2 separate regions of the Homo sapiens genome follow, and region 2 is linked to region 1. The links are contacts of gene promoters, found by promoter capture Hi-C in blood cells and fetal thymus (Javierre and others, 2016). All regions are on one chromosome and are shown on one strand. The core of a region is centred on a gene start or on the middle of the fragment in contact, and the rest is flanking DNA. Distances in the headings are between cores, read along the strand shown. Region 1 holds the start of OR5M10 (olfactory receptor family 5 subfamily M member 10). Region 2 holds the start of OR5M11 (olfactory receptor family 5 subfamily M member 11).

Evidence for each region. The method cuts DNA at HindIII sites, captures the fragments that hold promoters and counts their contacts. A CHiCAGO score of 5 or more calls a contact.
Region 2: a contact is called between the fragment with the promoter of OR5M11 here and the fragment with the promoter of OR5M10 in region 1, in 9 of 17 cell types (neutrophils, fetal thymus, activated CD4 T cells and 6 more). The highest score is 10.7, in neutrophils.

The regions. Positions count from the first base shown.
Region 1 is chr11:56,574,089-56,580,237 of GRCh38, forward strand. OR5M10 (olfactory receptor family 5 subfamily M member 10) reads right to left here and starts at 3,633. Exons shown (of 1, transcript NM_001004741.1): 1 at 2,686-3,633. The coding sequence starts at 3,633. The coding sequence ends at 2,686. The HindIII fragment of the contact is 7,953 bases long and covers 2,527-6,149 here.
Region 2 is chr11:56,539,689-56,545,837 of GRCh38, forward strand. OR5M11 (olfactory receptor family 5 subfamily M member 11) reads right to left here and starts at 3,569. Exons shown (of 1, transcript NM_001005245.1): 1 at 2,652-3,569. The coding sequence starts at 3,569. The coding sequence ends at 2,652. The HindIII fragment of the contact is 1,332 bases long and covers 3,013-4,344 here.

The DNA.
Region 1 (6,149 bases), core at 2,383-4,882:
ATAAATAAATACATATTTTAAAAAAAAGAGATTACAAACAGGTCAAGCATTTGGGTTACAAAGGTGTCAAAGTTTAAGTTTGGTTGCTGCAAGCCACAGCAATTCTCATAACTAGAAAATAAAAGGAAGTATACAGTTATTTAGGCAAAATATAGAGTGTGTTTGTACCAATTCTAAAATACAGTTTTCAAATAGAGTATCAGACCACTCTACTTGCTAGAAATTGAACACAATGCTTTGCCTAACCAAAAGAGGAAGATAAAAGAATAATATAAAGAGCTATCCCACAGATTAAATGATGTTGTCATAAGATAAAGAAATATCCCACAGATGAAATGATGCTGGGCCTCTAAAAGGAAGTAAGGACGCTGTGTCACTCAGTTCCCAGCTCTTCTGCTTCACTCTTGTCTCTACAGATCACCTGCTTCTGTTGTGCCACTGCCATTGCCAAAACCAGGCAAATACACAAATAGTGCTAAAAGGTAAATATTAAATTGTTGCTGCCCAAAATTGCCTTCTTTCTTTTTCAGTTACTGTTTCTAAAAGCAGATTTGGATAGAACCAGACTTATTCAACCAACTGACACTTAAGAATATAACCCAATTTTACAAAAACTGTTAGTCATCTGTTTAATATTCTGGAAAACCACTTGAACATTTTATAGTAGATACAGTAGTTGATATCATATAAGCATTTTCTGTAGCATTTTCTGTATAGTGTTAGTTAAAAGCAGAGTGCAAAATATTAAAATGTCAAACATAAGAGGCAATTTAATAGGGCTAAATATGTATGTATTAATATGCAGTCATCTGGTTGACTAAATAATACATTGATTAATGTGTATCTTTATTTAGCCTCTTTGTGATTGATTTTCCCTGTAGTAGCTTTGAGAACTAGAATACCCTAATGTAAAAAAATAATGTGCCACAGACAGTTGTGTGAAGCAAAATAAACACTATTTCCTCCAAAAAGATACGTACGCCCCTATTAATTTTTATACTGTTTCAGGGTGTTAAAGAAGCAGGAGTCTAGGAGATCCAGGGTGACAACATTTTAAAATCAACTCTGTCTTGAGGTTAACAAGGCACAGTCCTGGCCGGTCATGACCCATGTTCATAAGATGCTTATAGTTTAGGAAACAGCCTAAAAATACCTACAAGAACACGCTAATAATGCAGCAAGAGAACCTAGGTGTCCCAATTCTCATAAGAGTATATGCTTTTATCATGATAATAATAGTTATGCACACACTAAAATATCAAGGATCGTTTTCTTTAAATCAACAGAATGATAAATTTTGTCATGCCGTCAGCCTACCCACATGTAGCCACAACTTACTTTAGTCTGTACGTAGATAAAAGACCATTAAAAAAACTTAAAGAGGGTGCATTCCTCCACTTGCTTTCTGGGAACACCTTACTCTGTAATGCAATAGCCTTTAATAAATGATCTCTTTGGAGTAGCATTTAATGAACTATCTCTTCTCACTGCACTTTGCAGCTTATCTTGAAATTTTTCCTCTGTAGATCCAAGAACCCCCTGCTGGGATCTGGATCAAGACCCCTTTTTCCACTAACAAAGTCATTTATGCATATGCAAATATCAATTGATAAACCCTATTGATTCCTACTAAATTATTCCTAAGTCAGAGGTACTTCACTGGAAAACATACGTGGAATGCAATTGAAGTATTTTGATGATAGAAATGGATCCATGCACTTGAAAACTCAAAAAAAAAAAAGGGTGTTGAGAGTTGATTTTCAGAATTGAGGACCATAACTGGTATTACCACATGAACCAATAAGAAGCTTCTCACGATGTTTACAGTGTGGGTTTTGAGAATACTTACAGAAAATTTAACTTATAGGTGATTCATATATTTACATTTTTTGCACAGTGATTACAATAAGTTCACAGGTTTCAGAACTATTGTTCAAGACACCACATTGAAGTAGAAACAATTTTTTTCTTTTTTCGTTTTCTTTTTATTTATTTATTTATTTATTTTTTTGGAGATGGAGTTTCGCTCTTGTCGCCCAAGTGGAGTAAGTACAATGGCGTGATCTTGACTCACTGCAACCTCCGCCTCCCAGGTTCAAGCTATTCTCCAGCCTCAGCCTCCTGAGTAGCTGGGATTACAGGCATGTGCCACCACAACCAGCTAATTTTGTAATTTTAGGAGAGACGGGGTTTCACCATGTTGGCCAAGCTGGTCTCAAACTCCTGACCTCAGGTGATCCACCTATCTCTGGCTCCCAAAGTGCTGGGATTACAGATGTGAGCCACCATGCCCGGCATCATTTTTTTAAAAATGTAAAATTAGCCACCCTATCTGGAGCCTCACTATGGCTCTATGGATAGTAATATTCAAAGGGGTTGGATTTTCAGAGTTTCTCTCAGGCTAAGTTAGTTAAAAGTTTACCCCCAAGTAAGTAAACCCAGTATTTTCATACAGAATTATTAGAAACCAAACAATTTATATTCATAGAATCTCTGACAAATAAAACATTATTAATTTCAACATTAAGCTTTTTATTTTTAAAAACTAAATCTTCAAAGTGTTAATTTTGAGAAGAAACTAAAGTGGTTACTAAGAGCCCATACTGTTAAATAATAACTACACTAGGTTTTTCCATTTCAGTTTGTTACCCCACAGGCACTTAGGGATTACAAATAAACACAGGCCTAAACTGCAATTTTACAAAAGGATTTTCCCCTAATCATTTGTTGTATGGCAAGGATTACATCTCTGTTCCGTAGGCTATAGATCAATGGGTTCAGCATTGGGCTCAAAAAAGTATAAAAGACTGCAATTATTTTGGACTCCTCTACAGACTTCTCTGATGGAGGCCTTACGTACATGCAGAAGAGGGTTCCATAAAACAAAGTGACTATTGTCAGGTGGGAAGCACACGTAGAAAAGGCTTTGTGCCTGCCTTCAGCAGAACGGATCCTGAAGATCGCTGCAAAAATGAAAAGATAGGACAGAAGAATGATGAAGAGAGAGCTTGAGAGAGTAAAGCCTGCAACTACAAACATTGCCATCTTTTTGACACGGGTGTCAGAGCAGGCCAGCATGATAAGAGGAGGATCAGCGCAGTAGAAATGATTGATTTCAAGGGAGCCACAGAAGGATAAGTGAAAGGTCAGCAGTGTCTGAGAGAGCCCATTAAGGAAGCCATACATGTAAGGCACAGTGACCAGAGAGATGCAAATGTTCTTGGACATCCTGGAACTGTAATGTAAAGGGCTGCAAATGGCTACATAGCGATCCAATGCCATTGAAGCAAGGAAGTAAAACTCAGTGATCACTAGGGCGATGAAGAGAAGACACTGTGTGAAGCATCCAGCGTAGGAGATGGTCTTCTGTTCTGAGAGGAAATTGTGCAGCATATTTGGAGTAACATTGGAAGAATAGCAAATGTCTACAAAGGAGAGGTGACCAAGGAAGAAATACATGGGTGTTTGCAGTTGGGAATTGGTCCTGATCAGCAGGATCATGCACAGGTTGCCTGCCAGTGTGATTAGGTAGATCGCCAGGAACACCCCAAACAGGATCTTCTCTAGCACTGGGTCGTCTGTCAGTCCTAAGAGAATGAATTCTGTCACTATGGTGTGGTTTGGGGACAACATCTTCTTATTTCTTGAAAACTGAAAGTGACAAAGAATGTGAGGATTCTCTCTGATCCAGATTTGGCATTTGTTTCATCCATTTATCATTCACTCATTCATCTATTCATCTAGGCACCAATTACTTTTTTCAATAAACACATCAGAATTTCTGCACAACGTTTTCTCTTTATATGTGTGTGTTTTCTGTCTCTTTTTGTATCTCAAACCCACACACACACAGGCACATTCTCTATTTCTGTCTCTTATATATATACATTTATAAATTTATACATTAATGCATTTATACTTGTCTTCTTGGTGAATTCTACATTTGGTAATTATTTTCAAGGTTTGTGAGGGAACAAAAAAAACAAAGAAATGAATATCAGATATTAATATTAGCATCATTTAAATAAATAAATGTAGGAAGTCCAATCTTCAGTTTCCCTCCATGTCTGATATCTTATTATTTCAGATACAAAACAGAAGAAAAAAATTAAGGTAGCATTTTCACTTAAAACCTATGACTGTCGGCCGGGCGCGGTGGCTCACGCCTGTAATCCTAGCACTTTGGGAGGCCGAGGCGGGCAGATCACGAGGTCAGGAGATCAAGACCATCCTGGCTAACACTGTGAAACCCCATCTCCACTCAAAATACAAAAAAGTAGCCAGGCGTAGTGGCGGGCGCCTGTAGTCCAAGCTACCGGGAGGCTGAGGCAGGAGAATGGCGTGAACCCGGGAGGCGGAGCTTGCAGTGAGCCGAGATCACACCAGGGCACTCCAGTCTGGGCGACAGAGCGAGACTCCGTCTCAAACAAACAAACAAACAAACAAACAGAAACCTATGATTGTCAGTGAACATTAAATTAGTTAAACTTAGTGCTTGATATATGGCTAAGAATATACAAAACCAAGAACTGTTTTTTCACTTTGAAATTTTACCTGCCTGTTTATTCATGTACACTGACTGCATAGCTTGATTTTTTTGTGTGTATTACAATTCCTGGGGTTATTGGAGTGAACAAATTTTCCAGTTTCATGGAGCTCACATTATAATATGAGAAATAATGGTTAAACCCACAGAGAAAGATACATATTATAATTTCAAGTAAAAGCTGGGTCTGTGAAGAACAATGAATGTGAGATTCTTTTAGATGACTATTCAAAGTAGCCTTTTCTGAGAATGCAACATTTGAACAGTAAATAAACAATTATAGCACCTGAAGGAAGAGAGTGAAGTTTTTTTGTCTCCATTTATATGCCACTAAACTACTTATTAAAATATTGTTAGAGAATCACAGAACATTGTTAAAAGCAGTCTTTGCTGCCAACTCAAGCCACTCTCTCTGAGTTCTTCATGAAAATAAGCTATGACTGTAAAAATTATTGCTCAAAAATTTGCACCCTAAAGAAATTGCTTATTTAGCTCTCACATATACATCAGAGGAGCTTGCATATAATTGATTTTAGAGTCAATGAAATGTTAACATATGAATAGAAAAGTCCAGTGAAATTGATGAAAATATGGGTTTCCTCTATTGATTGGATACTAATCTCCACACACAGAAAAAGTTGTATTTTTAGTGAACAAATGTAGCAAATGACCTACCTGTTAATGTTAACTCACCATAGTTTGTAAAGCAAGGTGGCAAGATATATATTTCTTAGCTATATTCCCTAGAGTATTTTTAAAGTAATTCTAAAGAACCAATTATAATATCCTTTGTTCCTCAAGGGCTTAACATTTATTTGATAGTTTGAACAGCTAGATTCTCCTTTGAAGATGAAATCCCTATACAACATTTATGTACAGTTTTGTTACATGTGTTCATCAGAGCTTTAGCACAAACAGAGAAACTAGCCATCACTTTCAATAATATGGAAGAAGGAAAATATAGATAGATAAGTTTTGTAATTTTAATATAATAAAACCAAGAAGGTTTTCATCAGAACTCTCCAGTTTTGTCTATAGACACTGGGGTGAGGTCCTTTACTGAGGGTGAGGGGTAGAAAGGTGTGGCAGCTGAAAGACTTGAGGAAAGGAAGGATTTGTAAGGATGTGGAGAGCAGCAGAGTGACAACATAATCAGTAGAAGGAAGCAGAAGTATTGGTCAGGGCCCAGGTCCTTTGGAGGACGGACGTTCTGGATTTATGCTGGAACTAGTCTGCCCTATTGAAAGTCATTAACAAGCTAAGAATCAAAGACAGGTCTGAGACCAGGACCGTTTATAAAATTGATGAGTCATAAAATTGTTGACTTAGGAATAGGGCTGAAAATAGAAGGAAGAATATTTAAAACTTGTTTACACTGCATTTGTTAGATGATAAGGGAAGCTAGACATGTGTTCATTAGTCTGTATTTTCCAGTGCACTGATAGTTCCAGGTTAGCACAAATGAATCAAAATGGGCTCTGACCAAGACAGAAGAGGCATCCCTAATTCTCTTAGATCACAAATGGTGGTTATTCTTTGAGAAATCAGTCAACACAATATAGCTATATATCAAAATCAAAATGTAGATTTGTTACATCCCATG
Region 2 (6,149 bases), core at 2,319-4,818, 34 kb before region 1:
AAAAAGAGAACAAAGCATCCCGCACATGTGAAATTAGAAATACATGGTTGTTAATTGTAATTACATCTCTCTCAGTATAAGTCTATGTTGGATGAGTGGGAAAATCTTCCTTATGCCCCTGAAATTACACTGTCATTAAGCCTGAAACTTAAGATAATTTGATACTTAATAAAACAATCCCACTTCTAACAACAGATGCATGAACAAATATGTCAAATTTTTAAATGGAATCTTAATAATGCCACAAAAAAAATCAAACTAATGATATACAACCTGATGATACATTAAATATGTTCCCCCTAAAATAAGGAGCAAGGCTGGGTATGGTGGCTCACGCCTATAATCCCAGAACTTTGGGAGGCTGAGGCAGGTGGATCATGAGGTCAGGAGTTCGAGACCAGCCTGACCAACATGGCGAAAACCCATCTCTATTAAAAATACAAAAATTAGTCAGGCATGGTGGTGGGTGCCTGTAATCCCAGCTACCCAGGAGGCTGAAGAAGGAGAATCACTTGAACCCGGGAGGCAGAGGTTGCAGTGAGCCAAGATTGTGCCATTGCACTCCAACCTGGGCGACAAGAGCAAGGCTCTGTCTCAAAACAAACAAAGAAACAAAACACAAATGAAATGAGGAACAAGGCCTTGATATTTGTTTTCACTACCTCTATTTGACATTATAATATCAGTCTAAGTCTGCAATGATGAAGGAAAAATAAATAAAACTCATAAATATTGGAAAGGAATAAAATCTGTTAATTTGCAGATGAAATGAAGTAAATTTTAGAGAATTTATAGAAGAAACAAACAAAAATTCTACTCTAATTAAGACAAATGAGCAGGGTTGCTGGATGCAAGGGTCATAATTAAGCTCAATTATTATGTATCCTAGTAACAAATGGATATGAAATATACAATGAGACATACGGTTTCTCTTGGCCTTAGAGTTCAGCATTTTGGTTGATTACCGAGATTCAGCTGTACTCTTGTCTTTAGAAGCTGTGAAATATAACCATATATTTGTCATAAATTGCCGTTGTTGACTTAGATAGCTTGGGGCTCTTTTTTCCTTGTAAAACTAACAACAAACCCAAACAACAACAGGAACAAAATGCAGAAGCCTTATAAATACAGTTACTTAATGTACAACTTAATATATACACAAAATATTTTATCTTTTTATTTTCTAATGGCGTAATGGCAGAATTTGCCTTCCAATAAAGATATTTAGAAAATATTTAGTATTTTGAGGCAATAAGTAGAAAGTTTGGAGAGTAGAAGAATCTTGACCAGGCACAGTAATTTATGCCTATAATCCCAGCATTTTGGGAGGCTGAGGCAGGAGAGCCACTTGAGCCCAGGAGTTTAAGACCTTCCTGGGCAATATAGACAGATATCAGATCTACAAAAAAATTTAAAAATTAGCCGAGTGTGGTAGCACACACCTGTGGTCCCAGCTACTAGGGAGGCTCAGGCGGGAGGGTCACTTGAGCCTAGGAGTTGGAGGAAGTTATTAATATGATCATGCCACTGTTCTCCAACCTGGGCAACAGAGTGAAACTCTATCTTAAAAAAATATATTTTTTACTTGTTCCTTAAATAATTCATTTTAGCATAATGTCTAAAGAGGAATTCTTTCTACTTTCTAAAGTTTCTTGAAGATGCCAGAGCAATGTCTTCTCTTCCTGTGGAAGAAATCCTTACTTCCTTGGACACATATAAACAGGCCAGTGCTAAGGAAAACAAAAAATTAACATTACTTACCTAAACTTAATTACAAATAGAAGGAATATTCAAAGCAAGGTGGATACTCTATCGTATGACCTATTGTTTACTCGGTTCTTTCATTTCCCATTTTAATTTTAGTCCTTATTCTCAGATCAGCCTGCTTAAATTTTTCAAAATCAGGCGAAACAGAAAGTGACCTCCATACACTGGAGGCTCAGAATGGGAAGGTGGGTTTATGTAACTCAGAGAGCTGGATCCATAAACTCAAGTTTAAGAAAAGTACAATCATTCTCTTCCCCTCTTTTTCCATTGCCACTCTTCACTATGTAAGAGCACTTATAAAAACCAGAAGCCATCACCATGGCCCCTAGTTTCTGGTCTACCACAGCAAGTCAGGAAAGGAGTACAGAAGAATGGATTTCTTGGAGTGCAGAAGAATGGGTTTCTTAAAGACATCTCTGCTGAAGCAGCAGGCGAGAATAAGAATAGAATACATTCAAGAAATTGGGCTGGGAGCACATTTATTTTGTTTGCCATTGTAAACAAAAAGAGCACAACAGTGTTCCAGGGCATGCCACGTTTCACCCACAGCAGTGCTCCTCAAAATTCAGTGTGCTTATCAATCATCTAGGAGTTTGGATAAAACACATATTTAAATACAGTGCACCTGAGGTGCAGACTTTGATTCTGTACGTGTAACAACCTCCAAGGAAGAGCTCATGCTGCTGATTCATGGAATATATGTGGAGGAGCAAAGCCTAGAAAAATCTCATTTTTACCCAGCATGAGCTTTTTAGCTGAGACACTCAACATAGACTCACAGAGAATATTAAAACTCACCATCAGAACGCTAGGACATGTGAGCCAAAGATTTCGATTTAATGTTTATTAGGAAACAAAGGCATCACCATGGTCATGACAATATTTCATCTCAGGACATTCTTCAAGGCCTGCTTCACATCTTTATTCCTCAGACTGTAGATCAATGGATTAAGTACCGGACTCACAAAGGTGTAAAAGACAGCTATTATTTTAGATTCCTCAACAGTCTTATCTGTTGGTGGTCTTATATACATGCAAAAGAGAGTCCCATAAAACAGGGTGACAGCCATCATATGGGAACCACAGGTGGAGAATGCCTTGTGCCTTCCCTCTGCTGATTTGATCCGGAGGATGGCAGCAAGAATGAAGGCATAGGACACCAAGACGATGGTGAGGGAGCTGGAGAGGTTGAAGCCAGCAGATATGAACATGGCATGCTCTTTGACATAAGTATCAGAACAAGAAAGCTTAATGAGCGGCGGGTCAGCACAGTAGAAGTGGTTGATGACACTGGATCTACAGAAGGTCAGGCGGAAGGTCAGGATGGCCTGGAAGAGTCCATCTGAGAAGCCATAGACATAGGGAAATGTGGCCAAGCAGATGCAAACTCTCCTGGACGTTTTCACACTGTAGCGCAGAGGGTCATATATGGCCACATAGCGGTCATAGGCCATTGCTGCCAGCATGTAAAACTCAGTGAGTAGAAGGGCAATGAAAATGTAGCACTGTGTAAAGCAACCAGCAAAGGAAATGGTCTTCTCAGATACGATATTAGTCGACATCTGCGGGGTTGCATTTGATGTATAGCACAAATCCACAAAGGCTAAGTTAGTGAGGAAGAAGTACATGGGCGTGTGAAGGCGAGAGTCCAGTCTCATTAACATTATCATGCCCAGGTTGCCTAGCAGGGTGACGAGGTAAACAACCAGAAACAGCACAAAAAGCAGAGACTGGAGTTCCGGGCAATCTGTGAGCCCAAGTAAAATGAATTCTGTGATTGCACTGCCATTTGTGTTGGACATTTCCTGACAGTTTGCTCTTCAAGCTATGGAAATAAAGCCAATATAAACAAATGCACATACCATGTTAATGTTCATTTGAATTAGTTTTTCTCCACATCTTCATATATCATCGAAAGTTATCTATTTCTGGGTACTACCATAAACTGGTTTTGGTAATTATGGTAGACTTACTATAATTTTGTAAGTCTACAATGTCATTATATCATTTGCCTAGGCATTACATTACTAATATATTCTTTCTCTACACCTATAGATATATCTATACCTACACCTGTATCTATCTATCCATCATCTATCTATCTATCTATCTATCTATCTATCTATATGACTGAGCTACATCTCTTCTATCTTCCTGTACTTTTTAAAACCTAATTCTATTCATGCTACATGACCCACTTTAAAGGCCACTTCTTTGTGAAGCATTTCTCATCCATTTCTCCTAATACGTGTCACTGAATTCTCTCTTCTTTATTTCCAGAGTATTCTATATTTCTCTAATTTATTATTTAGCCCCCATTGTATCATTATAAAGTATATACTTTCTCATCACATAATGGTGTTGAGAGCAGGGACAAAGTGAAGTTCATTTTTTAATTATACTTCTCAACACATATTTTTATACTAAATTTTCTTAAAATGCAAAAAGGAGAGCATGTAAGAATGAATGACTTGCAATTTTTACTCACAGATTTATCTCCATGTAGCCTTGCGTGATGTCATGTTCTCAGGAGAATTAAGTGATTATTGAAACTTAGTGTAGAAGCAATTCTTGGGAAGCTTGTTTATTAGCCCATATCACAGGTTTTTGCAGAAATTCTTATGTGGGGTACTGGAATCTTCATCTCTAATGATTATCTGTAGGATTCTAATGCAAGTGTTCCAAGATCATAGCTCAAAATGCACAGTCAGAATGGCTCAATAAACATATGCCAAATAAATGAACAAAGAACTGTGAAATAAAATAAATTTTCATATAGTATCTTGAGGATGTTTAGAGCAATGACTTAATGTGTTTAGAAAGAAAATAAATTAATATTTTCAGAGTTGGTATTTAATCTTTTAATCACAACTTGTATCTAACAAGAGGTATTACAAATCCTTTTGGCTTTTTACCTCTCTTCACATCAGAATCTTTGCTAATTCACATTTTCCTTTCTTTCGAGAAGTTTTTAATTTTTGCCCATTCTTTCATACTTGAAATTTTTATTACAGGCTTCTCAATTCTTGTCTCATCTCAAAATGAGTCACCTCATTTATTTTACTGTAAGTTTTAGAATGCCTATAATCAAAACTCTGTCTTGCTGTTACTATTGAGAAAAGCAACGTACAAAAAGGTTAAATAATTGAACCGAGGTCACACTACTAGTGCATACAATCTGAGAATCTGAGGTAAGAACTGAAAATTATGTATTTTAAAAACTTCCTTTATTAGCTGCTGCTGCAATACATATCACCTTTCTAAAGCTAAACTGTTTCATAAAATTGTATGTATAGACCTGGAAGGCCTTGAGATATATGATGATAAGGAACTTCTGGGGACACAGATAGTCATGGCATTCTTACATAGTGCACCATGATAAACAGGATTGTGCCAGACACATTCTCCTTACACTTAGTCATGTTCTACTATGTGACTGACTTGTGCCCTTGAGTACCTGTATGTGATATATCTAAGAAATATCAAGTAGAAGCTATGACATATCTTGATGTTAGGAGCTGGTTAGGAGCCCTGGATTACAGAGTTACTTCAGTAATTTAAAAGCTTTGCAACTGAATGAATCACTGTGTTTTCCCATGTGTAAATGGAAATAATAATATTTATCTTTCCTCTTCTCATGTCATTTTGGGCATCAAAATAGATATTCATGAAACAAGTATTTACTGATACTCAATATTTTGTGTGATTGGGCACTATAGATGCAGAAGCGAACAAACCTTTCAAAAATTTCTGCTTTTTTTGGTTTTCCCATTCTAGTGGACAGAGAGAGCTATTATTTCAAGTAAATAAATAATATTCAAATAACTGTTGTGGAGAAAAATAAAGGAAATACAGTTTTGGGGAAAGGAAAGTCAAGGAAGACCTCATTAAAAAAGTAATGTTTGGCCAGGCAGGATGGCTCATGCCTGTAGTTCGAGCACTTTGGGAGGCTGAGGCGGGTGGGTCACCTGAGGTCAGGAGTTCAAGACCAGCCTGGCCAACACGGAGAAACCCCATCTCTACTAAAAATACAAAAATCAGTCAGGTGTGGTGGCACGTGCCTGTAATCTCAGCTACTTCGGAGGCTGAGGCAGAAGAATTGCTCAAGCCCAGGATGGAGAGGTTGCAGTGAGCGGAGATCAGCCACTGTACTCCAGCCTGGCGACAGAGTAAGGTTCTACCAAAAAAAAAAAAAAAGTAAAGTTTATGGCAACAACTGTAGCAAGAAAACTTCTAAGAAGGATATCATAAGAAGTGTAAACCAAAAATAAATAAAGGGACTTCCTCCTCAGCCAGGGCTTGTAAAATTTAACTTGAAAGACTAGTTCAGGCGGTTAAGGGAAATGGGGGTCGGACATGCCTCATTATTCCTCTCCAGCATT